Linked DNA regions of Homo sapiens: region 2 is linked to region 1. Evidence: promoter capture Hi-C in human tissues and cell types (Jung and others, 2019). All regions are on one chromosome and are shown on one strand. The core of a region is centred on a gene start or on the middle of the fragment in contact, and the rest is flanking DNA. Distances in the headings are between cores, read along the strand shown. Region 1 holds the start of NDRG1 (N-myc downstream regulated 1). Region 2 has its middle 16 kb from the start of ZFAT.

Region 1 (5,834 bases), core at 2,109-4,608:
TGCACCCACATTCAGCTCCGTGAGCTTCTGCCACCTCAGCTGGCTGCGGTGGGGGATGTGGAGGTGCATGCAGCTCCCAGGTCCCAGTGAGGGGCCTCTGTATAGGGTGGGCGTCCTCTATGCTTTATGTGCATCCAGGCCTGTACTAAAGACAGTCTTTCTCCTGCAGCGTGACACTTAGCTAAGAAAACTACTTCATCTGGTGCTCAGCGGAAGAAAACATCCTTTTCAACAGGGAAGGAAAATTGGCTGTGTTGGGCTGAGGGAGGGGAGTGTGGAATCCAAATGGTGTCTTCCTCAGGCCTTCTCCAAGGTGATGTGGACTCTGATTTTAGAATGCCATCACTTGGAAAATTGTGTTCCATTGCTCAAATTCTTGCCTCCCTTCTCTGCTCTTTTCTCTTCACTCCACTCTCCTTCCTCTGTCTTCTGACCTATTCAATGCTAATGGTCTTCCAGAAGGTTAGGCTTCCCACACAAGCCCAGCCTCCTGCCAGGCAACCTCCTCGGGGTTTCAAGCTGCAAATCTGGGCTGCTCTTCGCATTCTGTCCTGAGGACCTCCTCAAAGAGACAGGCAAGGGCCTCCCCTGGCAAAATGCCCTTCTAATTCCATGCACTAGTTCCATTTGTTACTGAAGAAGTGGGCCGCCTTCCCTGCGCCTTTGAACTTGACATTCCTTATCTTGACACTCCGCACTTTTGAACTTGACACTCTTGTATCTTTAGCAGGTAAAAAACCAAAGGTGCTCACTCAATAAATCGCCGCAATGGGGAGCCTATGGGAAAATGGGTATGTGTAAGCTGGCTAAAGGATAACAGGCACACAGGCTGCTTGATCTGGGAGGGTCTTTAGACAGCAGGATGGCTCCCAGAGATGCACTTTTGTTGTTGCTGTTGTTCATGATCATGTCCCCAGGGTCTAGAATGGTGCCTGGGCATAGTAGGTCCTTAATATAGTTAGGGAATGAATGAGTTCATCTCAACCACGCTGTATGGATGGAGAAACTGCGTCTTGGGGCTGTACCATGCTATGCACCTGTAGAAAATGTTTTTGCCTTTTCAGTCCTTTCCCAGTGGCGGAGTACAGGACCCAGCTCATAAGAGCAGCTCAATTCTGTCATTTGTGGAATGACAGAATAAATAAGTTTCAGGGCCTAGGGAGGCAAGGCTCCTGCCTTAGCCTCCCAAGTAGCTGGAACTACAGCTGCATGCCACTAAGCCCACCTGATTTTTTATTTTCTTGTAGAGATGATGTCTCATTATGTTGCTCAGACTTTTCTGGAACTCCTGGGCTCAAGCAATCCTCCCACCTCTGCCTCTGAAGTAGCTGGGACTACAGGTACTTGCCACCAGGCCTGGCTAGCTTTCATCTTTTTTGTAGAGATGGGACATCACTATGTTGTGAAGGCTGGTCTCAAACTCCTGGACTCAAGAGAGGCTTCTGCATTGGCCTCCCAAAGTGCTGGGATTACAGGTGTAAGCCACTCTACCTGGACACAACATTTTATTTGAAATAAGAAAAATTTTCCCTCACTGGGAATGCTGCAGTTGAACTAGTTCAAATCCATAAAGAATGGAAGACTGCCCAGTGGTCATTCATTCACTTATTAATTCTAGATGTTAAATTTTCTAGGGTGGGGGAATGTGCTCCTACATTCAAGGCATTCTTGAATGTAGCCAAACTTTGTAGTTTAGCCAAACTTCATAGCTAATAGCCAAACTTTGTAGTTTAGCCAAACTCTTCTAGCAGCAAAACCCATGACACTGGAACTCTGTTCTTCACACTGGTCATTTGTAATAGAATAACAGAGCTTTAGCACTAGATAGGTTCTGAAAGATCATTGAATCTAATCCTCTCCCTTTGCCAGTGAGAATTCTGAAGCCCAGATTTGTTGATTTGTGATCGATAGTGTCAAAGACAGGCCTGAAACACAGATGTCCTGGGTCCTAGAGGTGCTGTTTGCCCCTCTCCATATTTCTTTTGTTCCAGAAAACCCTTCTCCAAAACTGGCCCTAATAATCAGAGGGGAAAGCCATGGCCCCTGCCTTGGGGACAGCATGGGTTGGCACAGAAAAGAGGTTTACAATTCAGCAGGAAGTGTTGTGCGTGCGCGCGTGTGTGTCTGTGGAGGCGCAGGGAGGGTCACCTGAGCTTGCCCTGGGTCTGGTCCTGGGCTCAGTGGCAAATTCAACGCTGGGCAGGTGGCCTGAGGACAATGACGGTGCCAGCTGTGAGTCAGACTTCCTTTATTCATAAAATCATGTTCCTCCATGCAGTGCTTCTCAACCTGGCTGCACGTCAGGAGCCACCTGGGTAGCTTTGTAAAAACCCCAATGCCCAGTTGGTTTGCACCCCCTGAGATTCTGATTAAACTGTTCTGGAGTCCATCTCTCTCTTTTTATTATCTATCTATTTATTTATTTTTTAATTTGGCGGCTCCTCTGGGACTTCTCATATGCAGTAGGGGTTGAGAATTGCTGGTTTCTTTGGCCAGATGGGAACATGCAGGCCAATAGTTACGCACAAACAGAGCAGCAGAGCAGGACGGTGCTAAGGTTGGAAAGGGTGAGTCATGAAAGTTCAGGAAATCAGAATAGGAAGGGGTGAGAATCCTCTCATCTGGGCTTGTGGGGCAGGAGAGAAGAGCCCAGTGGGCAAGGTCCAGTGAGTGTGCTTAGAACTGGGAAGATGAGGGGAAGGGTAAGCGCTGGGCGGCGGTGGGCAAGATGGACGAGATTAAACGGGAGCGAGGATTTCAGCGAGAGCTTTGGCGACACGGAAGGCTGAGAATCGGAGGGAGCCTGTCGGGCGAAAGCGAAGGCGGCTGCTGGGCAGGCAGCCGAATCCGGCTGGAGAGCCGAGCTGGTGAGACCTACAGGAAGTGAAGGGAGTCGCTCAGGGCGTGGCGCAACGAGACTCTTAGAAGAAACTCTGAGGCAGAGATGGGGGGCCTCCGCCCATACGGAGACACAAGGAAGTCCACATGCACACGCACGAGCGCGCACATGAACACGCACAAGCACACAAACGCCTCCTCCGGGCAGGGCACACGCGCCCGCTGCACAGGCCGAGGCCCTGGACTCGGAGGGGACTGCAGAGCCGACCCACAACCCGGGCCCCGATGCCCCTCCCGGCCGCGCCCCTACGACTGCTTGCGCAACAGGCGGCGGCTCCAGTGGGCGCCCGCCGCGCGCTGCCGGAGCCCAGCCCAGCCCGGCGCGCCCGGGAGGAGGGAGCAGGGAGCGGGGAAGGGGTGTGTCCCGGCTGCGTGCTGGGACTGCGAGGGTCTGGGAGGGGCGAGGCGCGGGGGCGGGGCCGCGGCGCCTATAAAGTCGCCCTCCGCCCGGACGTAAACAAACCTCGCCTGGCTCCCAGCTGGTGCTGAAGCTCGTCAGTTCACCATCCGCCCTCGGCTTCCGCGGGGCGCTGGGCCGCCAGCCTCGGCACCGTCCTTTCCTTTCTCCCTCGCGTTAGGTAAGCCCGCGCCCTCTTCTCCCAGGCGCGACGCGGAGCAGAAAGGGGCCGCCCGTGCGGTGCCGCTGGAGCGCCAGGACCGCCCTTTGTAGCCCCGCGTACTCCAGGAGTAAGCGCCCCGGAGCTGCAAGTGCGCGGTCACCCCGGGGCGCGGGCGCGAGGGGGCTTTGGGTGCAGACACCGCTGAAGTGGGGGGTTCAATTACGGAAAGGGAGGAAAAAAAGACAGGGTCCCATTCATCTCCCCCCTAGCTGGGGATTGGGGTTCTGGAGGTCGGGAAGGGGGCGATGAGACGGTCCGAAAAAATACCAGGATAGCGTTTCCTGGCGTCGTCTCCGAATCCCAGCTGGCGCCGCTGGCAGGGGTGCGCGCTGGACGTGGGTGCAGAAGGGACTAGGTGAGTGTGTGTGTGTGTGTGTGTGTGTGTGTGTGTGTGTGTCTGTGTCTGGGAACGGAGAGATTGCGCGCGAGTGTGTAGATGAGGGGTTGGTAGAGGTGAGTGGCGCTGGCAAGGAGGCTGGAGAGGGGGGCGTGGGTGTGTCTGGCTTGCAGACTGGGTCGGGAACGGGTGTGGATCCGAGAGGCTGGTGGCGCTTCAGTCCCGTAGCACACACAGGGCGGTGTGCATGTGTGAGTGTAAGCGTGTGTGTGGGGGGAGGGTCCAGGGTGTGTCACAGTGCAACACGCGAGCCGGAGCAAGTGTCTGCGAGCGCCACTGGGCAGGGTGCGCCCCCGGAGGAACCCGGGATTGGCGCATCGGCGGCGTGGGAGAAGTGACCTGGGCGAGAGGGGTCTCGCGGACATTTGGCGGCCCCTTGAGCTGGCTGGAGCTAGGAGTGGCGTCATTTTCGCCTCCGCCCACCCTCCCCCGCTTTCCTCCCCTCCCCTGCCTCTGGTGCTGGCCGCTCCTGCCCTCCACGGGGGAAAACAGCTGGAATTACTTCGACGTTCCTGGGGGATCCGCCGCGGTCTCTGATTCAGCCTCGGGAGGAGATTTCGGGCTGGGCTTGGGGAATGCGGCTGGTTCTGGGGGAAACACGCTGTCACGCCTCTGTCAAATTAGTAGCTGGAGCTGGGATTTAGTGGGTCGGTTCCTTACCCACCCCTCCCCCATATCCCCCGCCTGTTGTCCCTGCTGTCCCTGGGGGTCCTGAACAGCACGCCTCTGTGGCTTGGAAGTGGGAGATGCCTGGCAGTGGGTGGGGGAGGCAGGGCCCTTGGTTATCTTATGCCCATCCAAGAACACCCCTTCCTCACGGACGCTGGGGGCACTTCAGTTTGTTTGGTTTCTTTAAGCTACTGGGAAATATCTAATATTCAGAAGTCAGCCAGTGGCCAGGCAGGAGGGCGGTAGACATCCTTATAATACCCATCAGCTGCACGGGACCTTCTCCTAAGCTGCCTCAAAAGAACATATCTAAATACAAACCCCCTGTTCTTGCTGCAGAAATGTAGTTTCAAGGCGAATTTTTCAGTCTAGACTCTTCCTGTTGAGAAATTCTGGCGTTCTTATTGAGTTTCACAAATGTGATTGAAATAAGCAAGGTACAGAGGGGGCAAACCCCAGCGCCTTTCTTGGAAGGGCTGCCTTCTGGTGGGGAAGACACACGGCTGGAGACGCAGACCGGTTCTGTGTGGTGTGTGTGGCGGCAGAGCCAGCCCCAGGCTGGGGTGGCACAGTGTCGGGGATGAAGGAAGGTGTAAGGGAGAGAGAGGGTTTTGGTGTGGATGGAAAACTGGGTGTTCCCCTGACCTGTGACTTCTTAGCTTTGTGGGACCGTGTCTCCCACTGCATCTGGGCAAGGAGGAGGATTTGCCTGCCCTGCCCTGTAACCTGGCCCCTGGCCCAGCGCCTGGCAGGTGGGAGGAGTTGAAATATGCACATGGGATGAAGTGGATGGCTCTGGGTCTTCTGCCCCATTCTCCTGTGAACCAGCAGGTTGAGTTTCGGGCGAGGTAATAGACTGTGCATGGGTGGAGGTGTTGGCTTTTGCTTTTGAGGGATCCTGGAGTGTCTGTTTGGGTCTCTTGTGAGGAAGTTCTTTTGGAGCAACAAAGTTTGATCATTTGGAATGGAATAAAAAACTCACACAGGACCTACCTAGTCCAACTTCTTTCCATTTTACAGATGGAAAATGAGGCACAGGGATGGGGAGGGATGTGCCCAGGCCGAACTGAGCTGGAGCTCAGCTTTGTGAGAGGCTCCTGGGTGGGACTGAAGGCAGTGGAAAGGGTTCCTGGCAGGATTTTGCCTGCCTGCTATGGAGGGGCGAAAGGAAATTGCATCTTCATTGAATTTCTGGTGAGGAAACTTTTGAGGCCAAAGGGGCAGAGCGGAATGATTTTTTTTAAGTGTAA
Region 2 (5,407 bases), core at 779-3,278, 1.4 Mb before region 1:
AAGCCTGTGGAGGAAACCTAAGAGCCTGGGGTCAGGATCAGACAGAGCTGGGCTCAGGTGGCATTGCTGCTCCAGATAAGATGTATGATCCTGGCTAAGTTTGTACCCACTCTGGGCCCCTGTTTTCTCATCTACAAAAATAAGCATAATAATGCCTTCTCTGAGAGTTATTATGAGGAATGACTGTGACAAGTGCATTGCACACTGGAAACACTCATAGGTATGAATTCCCTTTCCTTTCTGGGAGCCAGAGGCCTGAATTTCAGTTCCAGTTTTGCTATTATCTAACTGTTTTATCTGGGACTAGCCGCTGAATCATAGACACACAGGCCAATAACTGCCCTGCCCCTATTTCTTTTTAAACTTGTTATTGAAAACCCTTTTTAAAAAATTGAAAACCTTTTTATATACATTCAGAAAGTACACATACCATAGCTGTGCACCTTAATGAATTTTCAAAAACTGAGCACACTGTGTATTCCATCTGCTTTTGTAAATTAAGGTTTTTTTGAAACACAGCCATGCCCATTTATTTCTGTATATGTCTATGTCTATGGCTGCTTTTGCACTACAATGACAGAACTGAGTGGTTGAGATGTAGGCCATATGGCCTGCAAAGCTGAAAATACTATCTGGCCCTTTACAGAAAAAGTCTCCTGATTTCTGTATAATATTCCATTGTGTGAATATACTAACATTTATTTATACATTTTACTGTCAATGAGCAGTAGATTGGGTAGTTTCTCACTTGGGGCTATTATGAGTAACCTGCTATGAAGTTCTCATATATGTGTTTGGCGAAAAATACATATGTGTTTCTGTTGAGTCCATTCCTAGGAGTGGAATTGTTGGAACACAGGGAAGATGTAAGTTTAACCTTATTAAAAACTGCTAGTTTTCCAAAGTGGTTGCACCATTACCTCTCCCACATGCAGTGTCTGAGGGTTCCCCTTGCTCCATATCCTTCTGACACTTGCTATTGTCTGTGTTTATCATTTCAGACATTTTTTCTGCCCCCGACTTTGATGCTTCTCCTCTCTCTAAGCTATTTCTGTTTGTGCTTGGACACCTCCGGCAATAGAGCATTCATGGCCTCAAGGGGCAACCGTTTCATCTTTGGATACTTCTGATCTCTTAGGAGCTTTTCTTCATATAGTAGCCCTTCAGATGTTCAAAAAATCAGTGCTCATATTCCCACGGAATGCTATCTTCCCCAGGAAAAGAAACCAGAATATTTCTAGCTTCTTTAAAGTTGCTCAAAAGACATGAATTTGCATGCCTTCGTCATCCTGGCTGCTTGATGAATATGTTTAGTTTCTCTGGGCTTCAGGTCCCCCATCTGTAAACTGAGGGAGTTCAATGAAAGGATCTTTAGTCATTTGAACTCCAATAATTTGTGTGAAATGTTGTCATGGGGACCCTTGAAGAGATGTCCGCACACATCTTTAAACAGGGGATCACACCAAAATGCTACTGTTAATGTCTACTGGCCACCTGCTGACAGTAGAGAATGGAGACGTTTATTTATTCATCTTCTCCTCTAACAAATTGTTCCTGAACACGGAGGATGTTCCACGTGCTGCCCTAGGAATCCAGGATGATGGGACTGATAAAGGTCTCTCTTGTGACAAATTCATCTCTGGCAGGAAGGGGGAGTGGGGAAGTGGACTGTGTGCCTGGGCAACTCTGTAGCATCCAAGGGAGGCTGTAACTGTGCCACGTGCACCTTTAAAAGGCGAGAGTCATGGGAGATGTCGAGGTTGATGCAGATAACTGCAAGCTGCAGGGTAGCTGGCTAGCTAGGCAAGGGAGGAGTACGTTGGGCCTTTGCCTTGTCACTGGGGGCATTGGGCCCGGGGCATTGCTCCCTCTGGAGATGAGGAGAGTGCAGGCTTCACCCTCAGTATTCCCAGAACTTCCTTTGTAGCAAGAAATTCCCGGGCCAGACTTCTCTTCTGCTTTCTCCCTGACACAAGTGGGAGCAGCGCGTAACAACCAAAGGCCAGGTCACCAAATCCAGATGGCAGGCAGACAACAGCCTAATCTAACTGACCCAAACACTGTCAAAATGCAAAGACAGGGAGGAGAAAATGAAAATATTGGTCAGGTTTGCAAGAAGCCAGATTCCACTGAATCTAATAGGAGCACAGCTTTGAATATTGCAAAAGAAAAATCCAGTTATTGTGTATTAATTCATGTAAGCGTCAGGACAAGCCCATGGAGTGGATACTCTTAAGTTTTGTTTTACAAACGGGGAAACCAAGACATACAAAGTTTTAGAATATGCCCAGGACCCAAGCTTGTGAGGGTAACCAGCCCATCAGGATTACAAACTCAAGCAGTCAAGCTTCAGAGGCATTGCTTATAAGGACGATGCTATTCAGGTGTAGTAACAGGGAGCTGCATTTGGGAAGAAAGTCCTCAGTGGCAGTCAGAAGCGGGGCCTGACAGCTTGGCCAACTCTGGTGGTAGAATGGTGAGGTGAGGCCGAGGTGGGTGGATCACAAGGTCAGGAGATCGAGACCATCCTGGCTAACACGGTGAAACCCCATCTCTACTAAAAATACAAAAAAAATTAGCTGGGCGTGGTGGCAGGCGCCTGTAGTCCCAGCTACTTGGGAGGCTGAGGCAGGAGAATGGCATGAACCTGGGAGGCAGAGCTTGCAGTGAGCTGAGATCACGCCACTGCACTCCAGCCTGGGTGATAGAGCGAGACTCCGTCTCAAAAACAAAACAAAACAAAAAAAGAATGGCGAGGTGGATGAAATCCCAGGGGCAGCCCAAATCCAGCCATCTCCCAATTTTACAGAGGAGCCTGGGAATGAGGGTCCCAGGGTCACAGAGTTTACTAAAGTAAATTGTAGTGTTAAGAGTGATGTAAAAAATCATCCTGGTCGGGCATGGTGACTCTGCCATTCAGGGGTCATGTCTATAAATTACAGGCCAGCGTTCTTTACAAAGGTATTAGTTAGAGATGAAGCTATTAGTTGGAAAAGATATGCATTCTTTCCTGATAGTATAATTCTCCTAAGAATATTTAAGGATTATTTTAAACTTTTGAATGTGACAATTAGTGTATAGTATATTGCCACAATTTCAAAATTGAAAATAAAAAGTCATATATTTTCTTTCACTTTCCATTAAAAAAAATCCAGAATGAGTAACTGGAAAAAAAGGAATGAACTCTCCAAAGCATCAAAAATTTACTATAAGAGGAGAGAGATATGTTATGTAATGCATAATTTACTTTAAAATGTTTTAGCATAAACATTCTTATATACGTGTGTGCAAACTGATTTTAATATAGACTCTGCAATTTTAACATTTAGAAGCCTTGCTCAGAAATGCAAACTTCAGGAGTGCTGCTATAAGTTATCAAAACTTTTGATTAGATCCTTGGCTAATTTTTCACCAGTAGTAAACATGGTTTAGGATCTGGGGTTGGATGTGCATCTTTGCAGGCACACCTGTCCTGGTGTGGATGGATGCAGGAGCCCGCTGAGCCCAGCATGCTCACACCCTCCAGAGTGGTGCCCTGGACTTGCAGCTGGGGATTTTCCAGCCAGTCCCTCTAAGATTGCTAAGAAGATTAGCTAAACCCTACTGCTGAATTATTGGTGTATCTGCTTCACATGAACCTTTCATGATTTACTAGATAGTCTGAAGGGCACAAAGCAGGGCCTCACAGACTTTTAGGAAAAGCTTGCATGCCTGTTTCTATATCTGCTTGCGTAGAAATATTTTGCACAATTCCATTTGAAGTCTGCCTTCCCTGTACATGCTACCTAGCAGAGATTGCCAGCGGGGTCTTTCAGGCCCTCACCTTCCTCCCTGTGATCATGGAAGGCTGCCAATAGCCACCGAGACCAGTCAGTTGTGAAGAGTCAACTGGCTTAAGCTTGGCCTTAGGAAAAATATTCCATAAAGTTAAAAAATTTAATATTGGAATCTCAAGTTTTTAAAAATAGAATTGCACCACTGGTAGTATATCCAGGTGAGGTATTATAGATTTCAGGTACTCCTCTGCTCATTACTCACATTGTACCTGGTACAGCATGTCTGCTCAGTACCAGGAGACAGGAGCACCCAAAAGTGGCCTGTTTGCTTGGCCCATAGCTAATGCTAAAAGAACAAGAAATGTATTTTTGATAATGATATTTATCATTATGATAAGTAGATTAGGGATTGGCAAACTATAACCTAGGGGGCAAATCTCACTTCCTACTTGGTTCTGTAAATAAACTTTTATTGGCACACAGCCACAGGGTTTTATTTACATTCCCTTTGGCTGCTTTCATGGGGCAGAGTGGAGTAGCTTCAGTAGACACCCTGCGACCTGCAAAACTGAAAATATTTACTATCTGGCCCTTTACAGAAAAAGATTCCCCGCCCCTAACATAGATGGATAGCCTTAGTTTCTCATCTCGTGACTTCTCAAAAAAAAGCCCTATTCATTTTGAAGTCACAAAACTGGCTTGACGTGTAAAATAGGTGGTACTTTAAAAAGCATTATAATTTGCAGTATGTTTTAAAATTTGGTTTTATACTTCAGAGTTTGTAGAAATCCCAAAAGGGCAGTTCCATGAGAGGAGGAGAGACAGGGTCTTCAATGATCAGAGAGAGAGAAAGGCAGATAGAGGAGACAGCGCAGTGACAGGACCCTTTCCTCTGCCTACGAATGAACTTGCCCCACAGCCGTTCTTCTCCTCAAACACAGCAGTGTCCTGACCTCAGGACCTTTGCACCAGCCACTTCCTCCATCTAGATCACTTTTCTCTCAGGTGTCCACCAGCCTGGCTCCTTCTTATCACTCAGGTTTCAGCTCAAATGTCGCCTACTTGCAGAGACCTTTCCTGCTCACCCACTCCAAAGATTCATTCACTTCACTTCCTGCAGACACATTCTAGAAAACATTACTCCTTGTTTTGTTTTTTTTTTTCTCCACTTCGTGTCACTCCTTAGATGAAATTATCTTGTGCTTGTTTAGCGTCAGTCATCCAGTTAGAGTGGGTAGCAAGGCAGACATGAGCAGGGCAGGAAAGGGTCTCTGCAAGGAAGGTTAGGCGAGCATCAGGTAATGGTCAGATGGTTGCTAAACTGTCTCTCTAAAATAATGATTGATCACAGCCAGTGCCAGGGAAAGGCAGTCTCTCAATAGATAGAAAATACCCAGCCCTGTGCGGTGGCTTCTACCTATAAATTCCAGCATTTTGGGAGGCGGTGGATTGCTTGAGCTCAGGAGTTCAAGAACAGCCTGGGCAAAATGGCAAAATCCCATCTCTACCAAAATACAAAAAAAAAAAATTTAGCCAGGCATGGTGGCGTTCACCTGCGGTCCCAGCTACTCAGGAGGCTGAGGTGGGAGGACTGCTTGCTGCTTGAGCCTGGGAGGTGGAGGTTGCAGTGA

What was found. Contacts are between HindIII fragments. The study calls those that stand out against the background at their distance.
Region 2: a fragment that was not itself captured here is called in contact with the fragment with the promoter of NDRG1 in region 1 in 1 of the 25 tissues and cell types used here (dorsolateral prefrontal cortex).

What each region holds. Positions count from the first base shown.
Region 1 is chr8:133,294,776-133,300,609 of GRCh38, reverse strand. NDRG1 (N-myc downstream regulated 1) reads left to right here and starts at 3,358. Exons shown (of 16, transcript NM_006096.4): 1 at 3,358-3,476. RefSeq lists a silencer at 3,028-3,477 and an enhancer at 5,674-5,834. The HindIII fragment of the contact is 13,971 bases long and covers 1-5,834 here.
Region 2 is chr8:134,726,667-134,732,073 of GRCh38, reverse strand. It overlaps a transcript of ZFAT not described here. Among named protein-coding and RNA genes, the nearest start is that of ZFAT, 16 kb to the right of the region's middle. The HindIII fragment of the contact is 3,544 bases long and covers 257-3,800 here.